3 separate regions of the Homo sapiens genome follow, and regions 1 and 3 are each linked to region 2. Evidence: promoter capture Hi-C in human tissues and cell types (Jung and others, 2019). All regions are on one chromosome and are shown on one strand. Each heading gives the region's core, a stretch centred on a gene start or on the middle of the fragment in contact. The rest is flanking DNA. Distances are from core to core; before and after follow the strand shown. Region 1 overlaps KDM1A (lysine demethylase 1A). Region 2 holds the start of LUZP1 (leucine zipper protein 1). Region 3 overlaps TCEA3 (transcription elongation factor A3).

The links. Contacts are between HindIII fragments. The study calls those that stand out against the background at their distance.
Region 1: a contact is called between a fragment that was not itself captured here and the fragment with the promoter of LUZP1 in region 2, in 3 of the 25 tissues and cell types used here (dorsolateral prefrontal cortex, spleen and thymus).
Region 3: a contact is called between a fragment that was not itself captured here and the fragment with the promoter of LUZP1 in region 2, in 1 of the 25 tissues and cell types used here (psoas muscle).

The regions. Positions count from the first base shown.
Region 1 is chr1:23,030,553-23,033,614 of GRCh38, reverse strand. It overlaps KDM1A (lysine demethylase 1A), which reads right to left. Exons shown (of 21, transcript NM_001009999.3): 2 at 2,981-3,062. Among named protein-coding and RNA genes, the nearest start is that of MIR3115, 12 kb to the left of the region's middle. RefSeq lists an enhancer at 387-436. The HindIII fragment of the contact is 3,399 bases long and covers 1-3,062 here.
Region 2 is chr1:23,167,593-23,170,517 of GRCh38, reverse strand. It overlaps LUZP1 (leucine zipper protein 1), which reads left to right and starts at 1,662. Exons shown (of 4, transcript NM_001395462.2): 1 at 1,662-1,752. RefSeq lists enhancers at 768-817, 1,893-2,424, 2,425-2,925 and silencers at 1,463-1,522, 2,514-2,653. The HindIII fragment of the contact is 15,099 bases long and covers 1-1,870 here.
Region 3 is chr1:23,385,451-23,388,411 of GRCh38, reverse strand. It overlaps TCEA3 (transcription elongation factor A3), which reads left to right. Exons shown (of 11, transcript NM_003196.3): 9 at 993-1,139. Among named protein-coding and RNA genes, the nearest start is that of ZNF436, 17 kb to the right of the region's middle. The HindIII fragment of the contact is 6,654 bases long and covers 1-2,961 here.

The sequences.
Region 1 (3,062 bases), core at 136-2,635, 140 kb after region 2:
AAGCAAAAATTTCTAAACAAATTTAAAAGTTGGTAAGAATGAAATGTATGCAAACCTTACTTTTTTGTTTTGTTTTGTTTTTTGGATTTTTTTTTAAGGCGGAGTCTTGCTCTCACAAAGACTGGAGTGCAGTGGCACAATCTCAGATCACTGCAACCTCTGCCTCCCGGGTTCAAGCAATTCTCCTGCCTCAGCCTCCCAAGTAGCTGGGATTACAGGCACGTGCCACTACACCTGGCTAATTTTTCTATTTTTAGTAGAGACAGAGTTTCACTATGTTGGCCATGCTGGTCTCGAACTCCTGACCTCAGGTGATCCGCTTGCCTCAGCCTCTCAAAGTGCTGGGAGCCACCGCGCCTGGCCCTAACCTATATTTTTTGACAGAATAATTTCTAGTGATTGCCTTTTAAAAAGACTGAGAACAAGAAAAGGTTTGGTAGAGAAACAAACCCACAGGCCAGGCATGGTGGCTCATGCCTGTAATCCCAGCACTTTGGGAGGCCAAGGTGGGCCAACATGGTGAAACCCTGTCTCTACTAAAAATGCAAAAATTAGCTGGGCGTGGTGACGCACATCTGTAATCAGCTACTCAGGGGGCTGAGGCAGGAGAATTGCTTAACCCGGGAGGCAGGGGTTGCAGTGAGCCGAGATCATGCCACTGCACTCCAGCCTGGGCGACAGAGCGAGACTCCGTCTCCAAAAATATCAAAACGAAACAAACCTATATCTTCTCTCAAGCTTTTAATATAGTCATATAGCAATGCTTCCGTTCAATTTTTGACTAAAAACTCTTGTGAAAGACAAAAGACTTAGAAACCCTGCACAGTGTCCAAATATTTAACTCACCTGATAATATTTTATGATTCACCATCAGGGTCCAATCTATTGCTAAACTACATAAGTAGTTTAGGCTAGTAAGTTGACACTTTTTTCTAGGGAAAGTACATCCCTAATTCACCCCAGAAATTTTCAAAAAAAACATTAAGTTGTTTTAAAGGAAGAATCACTATTTTCATAACCACAAATAATATATTAGTAAGTTCTGGCTGTTATCAGCACATTTCTAAGCATTGAAGATATCCTCAACTTAAAATTTTAACGTCCCCCCAAAAACAAAGATAACTTAAACTAAACCACTGCATTATAATTAACTACAACACAATAAAGACAGCTCCCAAATCCTAAATCCTTTTGCTAAGACGTTTACTTTTTGTGGGAACAATACCTGACGTTTATGAAATTAAAAAAAAAAAAAAGCTTTCAGAAAAAAGCAAACAGCAACACCAACACATGGTTTAAAATTTTCAAAGAAACGTTTATCAACTTGGAACCTATGGTAAATCAATTATTTACTGGAGACACAACCACACAAAAAAGGTGAGGCAGCATCTGAGATATCAGATCATCAATGCGTAGTACTTAGAGCCCTTGAACTAAGAAGTCAGCCCACTCTTGAGCCACCGCAGACATTAAAAGGGTTATCCCCAAGTATCTCATTAGCAGGTCTACAGCAAAGGTAGAAGAAAGGTAAGAACCAAAAAGAACACAGAAGAAAAGAGCACAGGGTGAAGGGAAAGGTTGGAGGTAAGAACAGAAGGAAGAGAGCTAAATGTATAAGACTAGAAAGAGGAAGAAGAAAAATGAATAACGAGAGGTGTAAAGTAAAAAGGCAGCTACATTTGCCTGGGACATTAGCCCCAAAGGTAATATACTACTGAAACTAGAAACCTTCAAACAAGGAGTTGCCCAAGAAATCATTTTAAGAAAGTTTTAGGAAAACCACTCTTCTTAGAAAATCCCTGACTTTTGAATGAACTGAAACCAGAATCTTTTTCTGAATGTTCTCAAACTGTATTCCTTTAGTACACTTTATTACAATCCTATAAATTATAAATTTGATTTTTAAGTTTTAGCCAGACTTTGATAAGCTCCAAACCTAAGTTAACACTTGACTGGTAATGCCCTAAAGTGAAGCATCAGTACTGCTTCTGGTAATTCACAGTAACACCATAGGGGAGAAAACCCTTAAAAAAAAAAGGCTAAAACAAAAGATAAAACATCTCAAATGAAGTATGTCTTAATCTGGGTACCTACGAAAGTCATGCAAGATATAGCAGATGGGGTCTGAAACCACCATTTTGTTTTTAAAAGGTACAGGACTAAAAGAACCAGAGAGGTGTGTGGGTCTGAAGCTATTCGAAACATAAAAATTATTTCAAGAAGAGGAACTTAGTAAAAATTCAAAGTCAAAAAGAGTAAATAAAATGTCATTAAGGGCACAAGATACAAAAATTCATTAAAATACTGCTTTTGCTTGGTCTCTCCAAAACAGAAAGGCAGATATCCCTGATTGGTCCAGCCATCCTCAGAAAGCTAGTACTCAGCATTGAGGGGATGTTAGTGAGAATTCTTTAAAGCTGTTTGAAGCTCTGAAACCAAAACTATAGACTCCCATAATCTTTCTAGATTTTCTGGCCTATATATATTTTTACATTTGTTCACCAGGAAAAGGCACTTCTCAAAACCGATCCACACCGTGGAAGTTTTATCAGAAAGTATCTAACTACGTGGTAAACACATCATTTAGCCAGAACAATTTCTGAATCAGAACTGTCATTGAGAGGTCTGGTGCTTTGGATATGGCTTTCTGTATGTTTTTTCTAATCATTTATTTTCTCCTACTTTCCAACCACCTTATATTGCCACTGTCCTTCCATTCCCACCCTTTACTTTCCTCCTGTATATGTACAGACACACAAAAAGAGTATCAGTACCAGTATGTACGTATCTATGTGTATACATACACACATATACATGTATATGTATACACACACACAAAGACACACATGGCAGGAGACTCAATATCAGACTTTATTATAAACCAAAGATAAAGACATAAATAATATTGCAAAATGGAAATAAATCCATTCATTCTTATTTCTAAGATAAAACAGAACTGTGGTTGGATACTACAACTCACCCGATGGTTCTTCAGGCTCACTTTCATTTTCTTCCTCAGGTGGGGCTTGAGGGGGTGGTGGGGGAAGCTTCTTTTCCTTCTC
Region 2 (2,925 bases), core at 413-2,912:
TCCAGCCTGGGCGACAAGAGAGAAAATTCGTCTCAAAAAAAAAAAAAAAAAAAAAGAAAGAAAAAGAAAATAAGAATGACAATCATATTGTTCATATTGTTTGTGGAACACTGTGCCTGATGTTTTCCATACAGTATCTTAGGTAATTTTAAAACAAACACCACAAGACTATATTATTATCCCCATTTTATAGATGAGAAGACAGGCTCAGAGATGGCTATTATGACCCCAGAACATATGATCCCAGGGTTTTCTGGCATCAGAGCTTGAGCTCCACAAACATGTGTGGGTTCTGACCTCCAGGAAGTGCTAAGAAACAAATGGGAGGTCAGTTCTTTATAAGTTGTAGTGTTCATGCCCACGTGAGGGTTAAACACAATGTTATTGGTTATTCAGAACAGGGAGGATTGCTTTCTGGCTGGGAGAAGCTGGGAGGTGAGACAGCAGGGGAAGAGCTTCAGCAAAGGGTCAAATGTGGGAAAGCAGTGGGTGTGCTAAGAGAAGTTTGGATAAACTTTGTGTGTGTGTGTGTGTGTGTGTGTGTGTAAAGGTAGGAAGTGATCATACCAGGCCAGGGCTTTGGCCTTTATTCCATAGGCAATAAAGAGCTTACACAAGAGATGTCTCAAGAGACCAACCATGCTGCTGTAGTCAGAGAGGAAGCAGCCCTCAGCCCATCTGTGTCCTGGCTTGTGAATGCTGCTGCGTGCCAGCGTGTGGGAGGGCATCCGCAGCGAGAGCAGTCTCTGGCTGTGTCCTGTACTATGCTGGGTGTGGGTCTTGGGCTGTCTTTGAAGCCTTCCTCCTGGCTTCTCAGGGCACTAGGTGCCTTTTAGATAGTAGACTTAAAGGAAGTATGTCATAGAAGTATGGGAGGGGATTTTGAGATCATCTGGTTATTCCCCCTTCCCATTTTAAAGAAGATGAAAATCGGGAACATAGATGGGAAAGTACTTGTCTAGCATCACACAAAGAATTAATAGCACAGTGGGGGACGGGAACCCATGCCTCCCGAGTCTGAGCTGAGTTCCTTCTCTGCATTTGCAGAGTAATAGAAATAGGATTTGTTGAGTGATTATTCCATATCAGGTTCTAGGCTAAGCACCTTTCCATTGATTATCTCATTTAATCCTCACAACCCTACTGAGAGTGTCCCGCTTTTTTCTTTTTCTTTTGAGACAGGGTCTCACTCTGTCACCCACGCCGGAGTGCAGTGGCACGATCACGGCTCACTGCAGCCTCGACCTCCCTCGGCTCAAGCGATCCTCCTACTTTAGCTTACCGGCGGGCGCCACCACTCCCGGCTAATTTTTGTATTTTTTATAGAGATGGGGTTTCGCCATGTTGCCCAGGCTGGTCTCGAACTTCTGAGTTTAAGCGATCCGTCCGCCTCAGCCTCCCAAAGTTCTGGGATTACAGACTTGAGCCACCACGCGGGCCGAAAGTGTCCCTCCTGAAATCGAGAAGTCTTGTCTTCCATTTCGATTTCCCAGGGCGCCTAGCACAGGACCCAGCTACGGAGGCAATAAAAACTTGGTGGAGTCTAAGTCCTGGGAAGGGAAAAAAAGGACGGAGGGGGCGGGGCCTACAGACAACCCCGCCCATCACAAAGACCCCGCCTTCCAGAACGCTGACGTCACAATTTGGCCCCGCCCCTCATTGTCAGTCCCGCGGAGCCAGAGGAGGCGCCGGTCGCTGGCAGCTGAGCGGCGGAACCCTTCGCTGGCGGGAGCGCGGTTCGGGGCCGCAGAGGTGAGGGTCCGTGAGGCGGCGGCGGCGGGAGCGCGGCGCGGGGAGGGGAGGGCGGCGGGGTTGGGAGGCCGGTCCCGGGTGAGGTCGGGGCACCCGCGGCCACGGGGCAGAAGAAACCGCGGGCGCAGCCGAGGAGAGATGGGGTGTGGAGTTGGGGGAGAGTTGGAATGGATTTTGGAGGAAGGGCTCAGGAGGAGACCTTTTGGGGCGAGACCCAGCACATGTTTGTGGAGTTGGAGGAAGAGACTCTGAGGAGATTTTTCCTCGGGAGGGGGAGGGAAGGTTCTGAGGAGACTTCTTGGTGGGAGCGAGACTCTGAGGAGAAATGTTTGGGGCAGAGACGCGGAGGAGACATTTTCGAGGGGGCGGCGAAGAGTTTCGGGGGTAGAGTTTGGGGTTGGGGGAGGGGGCGCGGGCCGACAGGGGCGGGGGGCGACGAGGCGGCCGTGGAGGGGGCTGCGCGGGGCCCGGCGGGCACCGGAGGAAGGAAGTGATCAGACAGGAAGGGCCCGGGAGCTGCAGCAGCAGGAGGAGGAGGGCGGTTTGGGAGCGCGTCGGGCCGGCGTGCGGGGCCAGCTGCGGGCGCGGGGCGCGGGCCGCGGGCCGGGCGGGGAGGGGTCCCGCGGCCGCCGCAGCTGTCGGCCGCGCCGGCCCGCGTCCCGGGCGCTCTGCTGGTCTCGCAGCCAGACCGCTGGGCCGGGAAGGAATTCGAGGCATTCGCTTTGTTTAAGTTGCCAGTAGACAGTCCTTAGGACTAATTAATGGTGGAATCTGCAGGGGGACGCCGGCGAGCGGGGCCGGGGCCTCCCCCCGCCCGCCGCGGTGAACTTTCCGCAGCGCGGGGCCCGCCTCCCGGCGCACCCCCGGCCCCCGCCCAGCCGCCCGGGCAGGGAAGGAGCCATGGCTTCCCGGAGCGCAGGAATGAAGTGCGGTTTCTGGGGCTGGTGGCCTCTGGCTGCGGAGCCTGCCTGCAGGGAACCTGGCGACCCGCAGCGGCCGCGCTGGGGCTTCGGAGCCCGGTTTAGAGCTCTTGGAGGTGGCTGCGGTTTCTGTGCATAACCTTGGAGGAGCCTCTGTGAGCCGAGAAAGACCATCTTGCTTTGGAGCATCTGTTTCTTCATCGCGTCAACCCCTTTCCTAACACTGCAGAGCTTGTTGTGGCTTGTTTCGGGA
Region 3 (2,961 bases), core at 265-2,764, 220 kb before region 2:
ATCCTGGCCAATATGGTGAAACCCCGTCTCTACTAAAAATACAAAAATTAGCTGGGTGTGGTGGCATGAGCCTGTAGTCCCAGCTACTCGGGAGGCTGAGGCAGGAGAATCGCTTGAACCCAGGAGGTGGAGGTTGCAGTGAGCCGAGATCGCACCACTGCACTTCAGCCTGGTGACAGAGCGAGACTCCATCTCAAAAAAAAAAAAAAAAAGTTTAAAATCCTCATTTTGAGATTCGCGTCAGCCACCCTCCTTCCCCTTCCACCAACCCTTAACTGGAGCTCCCTCTCTGCTGTCCTCTGGCAGAGGCTTAAGGGGAGACAAGTGGCCAGGGAGATGGACAGAGAAAGCAAAGGTGTGGGTGATGCAGACCCGGAGTGTCTACTGTGAGCTGGTGGGAGACTGGAGACTCTTCTGTAGAAACTCTCAGAAAAAGATGATCTTGGATGCATGCTCATCAGATGAACAGTTAGTTGTGTGAGCCCAGGAGCTTCAGGATGGGGGTAGCAGCAGCAAGTCATGGGTAGTTGCGCCAAGGTTCCCACTAAGCAGAACAGCAGGGCAGTGATCACAGCGTAAAAGAGCACTGGGTCAAGTCTAGAGAGGAAGGCTAAGGGGAACATCATAGACCAGGTGGCAGTGATCAAGTCAGCTCAAGCAGGAAGGTTCAGGCCAAGGCCAAGGTCCTGGCAGGCAGGATGAGCCCCAGATCTGAAGAAATGTACACAGGAGTGCTCGTCCTCGGGCAGAGGCTGTTTGCCTGCTGCTCACCTGAATGTGCATTATGACCTTCCAGCCGTGGGCGGCAGGAGGACTCTGCGGGGACAGCTTTCTCCCAGCTGGGGCAGGACCCGGAATCCAGGCCTCCTTCCAGCTCCTTGCAGTCAATAAAGCATGTTACCTCCTTTTCTGTTCAGGCTTTCTAGAAACCGGGTGTAGGGCAGGGCCCCTGAAACTCCTCAGCCCTGAAGGGTAGACTCTTTTTTCTCCAGGAAATGGCCAGTGATGAACTGAGGGAGTTGAGGAATGCCATGACCCAGGAGGCCATCCGTGAGCACCAGATGGCCAAGACTGGCGGCACCACCACTGACCTCTTCCAGTGCAGCAAATGCAAGAAGAAGAACTGCACCTATAACCAGGTAAGGACAGTGAGGGGACGGGCCGGAGGTGCAGGAGGCCGCAGGGGCATAGAGGTGGAAAATCAGAGAGAAGCTTAGGGAAGAGCCAGAGGGGAGAAAGCGTTAAAACTCTCTAGGCTTTGCCGGGTGCGGTGGCTCATGTCTGTAATCACAGCACTTTGGGAGGCCAAGGCGAGTGGATCACCTGAGGCCAGGAGTTTGAGACCAGCCTGGCCAACACAGTGAAACCCCATCTCTACTAAAAATACAAAAATGCCGGGCGCGGTGGCTCACGCCTATAATCCCAGCACTTTGGGAGGCCAAGACGGGCGGATCACGAGGTCAGGAGATTGAGACCATCCTGGCAAACACGGTGAAACCCCGTCTCTGCTAAAAATTCAAAAAATTAGCAGGGTGTGGTGGCGGGCACCTGTAGTCCCAGCTACTCAGGAGGCTGAGGCAGGAGAATGGCGTGAACCCGGGAGGTGGAGCTTGCAGTGAACCGAGATCATGCCACTGCACTCCAGCTTGGGCGACAGAGTGAGACTCCATCTGAAAGAAAAAAAAAATTAGCCAGGCATGGTGGCACGTGCCTGTAATCCCAGCTACCCTGGAGGCTGAGGCAGGAGAATCACTGGAACCTGGGAGGTGGAGGCTGCAGTGAGCCGAGATTGCACCACTGTACTCCAGCCTGGGCGACAGAGGGAGACTCTGTCTCAAACCAAACAAACAACAAAAAGAAAACCTCTCTAGGCTGGGCCAGCTCAGTGGCTCACGCCTGTAATCCCAGCACTTTGGGAGGCCGAGGCAGGCAGATTGCTTGAGCCTAGGAGTTTGAGAGCAGCCTGGGCAACGTGGTGAAACGTCATCTCTGCTAAAAATACAAAAATTAGCCAGGCTTGGTAGTGTGTGCCTGTAGTCCCAGCTACTGGATGCGGGGGAAATGGGTGGCGATGAGGCAGGAGAATCACTGGAGCCCAGGAGGTTGAGGCTACAGTGAATTGAGGCTGCAATGAGCTATGATTGCACCACTGCACTCCAGCCTGGGTGACAGAATGAGACCCTGACTCAACAAAACAAAGAAAACCTTAAAAACTCTCCAGGCTGCAGAGAGAAGGGCAAGCCTTGGTACACTAATGTGGTGCACCTGTGGCTTCTAGACAATGTTCCTCTGAGTTTAGAATCATCCCTGCTATGTGTCTACGAGGCTTGGTCAGTGTGTTCTGGTCTGCCCTGACGTGACAATAAGAAGAATCAGACTCATGGCGGCTGAAGAGTCATAGACAGTTGGAAGGGAACTTGGCAATGTGAAACCCAGCTCCCTCATTACACACCCAGGGAAACTGAGGCCCACACAGGCCACAGATGGGCTTTTTAGCCTTGCCCAAGAAAGGAGGCCAATGTCAGAGGTAGTAATAAACAAGATCCACACCATTCTGCCTGCAATCCAGCTAACTTGGTCAATAAAGCCTAAGGGCTTTAGCTCTGAGTCCTAAAGTTGAAGACCATTGCCCTGGCATGGGGAACTTGGGAAGGCTGTGGAGGCCCCTTCTCTTAAAACCAGAGAATGGCCTCCTCTTTCTGGGTTGCACATGGTATGCCCTTAGAGCACAAATATCCTTGGATTCTAACTGGTGTCTAGTCATTCTAGAACTCTATTCAGAGTTCTCCGTCTGTTCGGCACACACCATTTATCAAGAGCACCTTGCCTGCGGCATTCTGTGGCCAGGGCAGAAATGCAGTCAGCCTTGCCATTCCGGAGGAGTCCCTTGGAGAATTCCAGTTCTGGAATCCGGAGATGTTTGTGCAAGCTTCTGCTCTCTCCCAAGCACCTTTCCGTGTG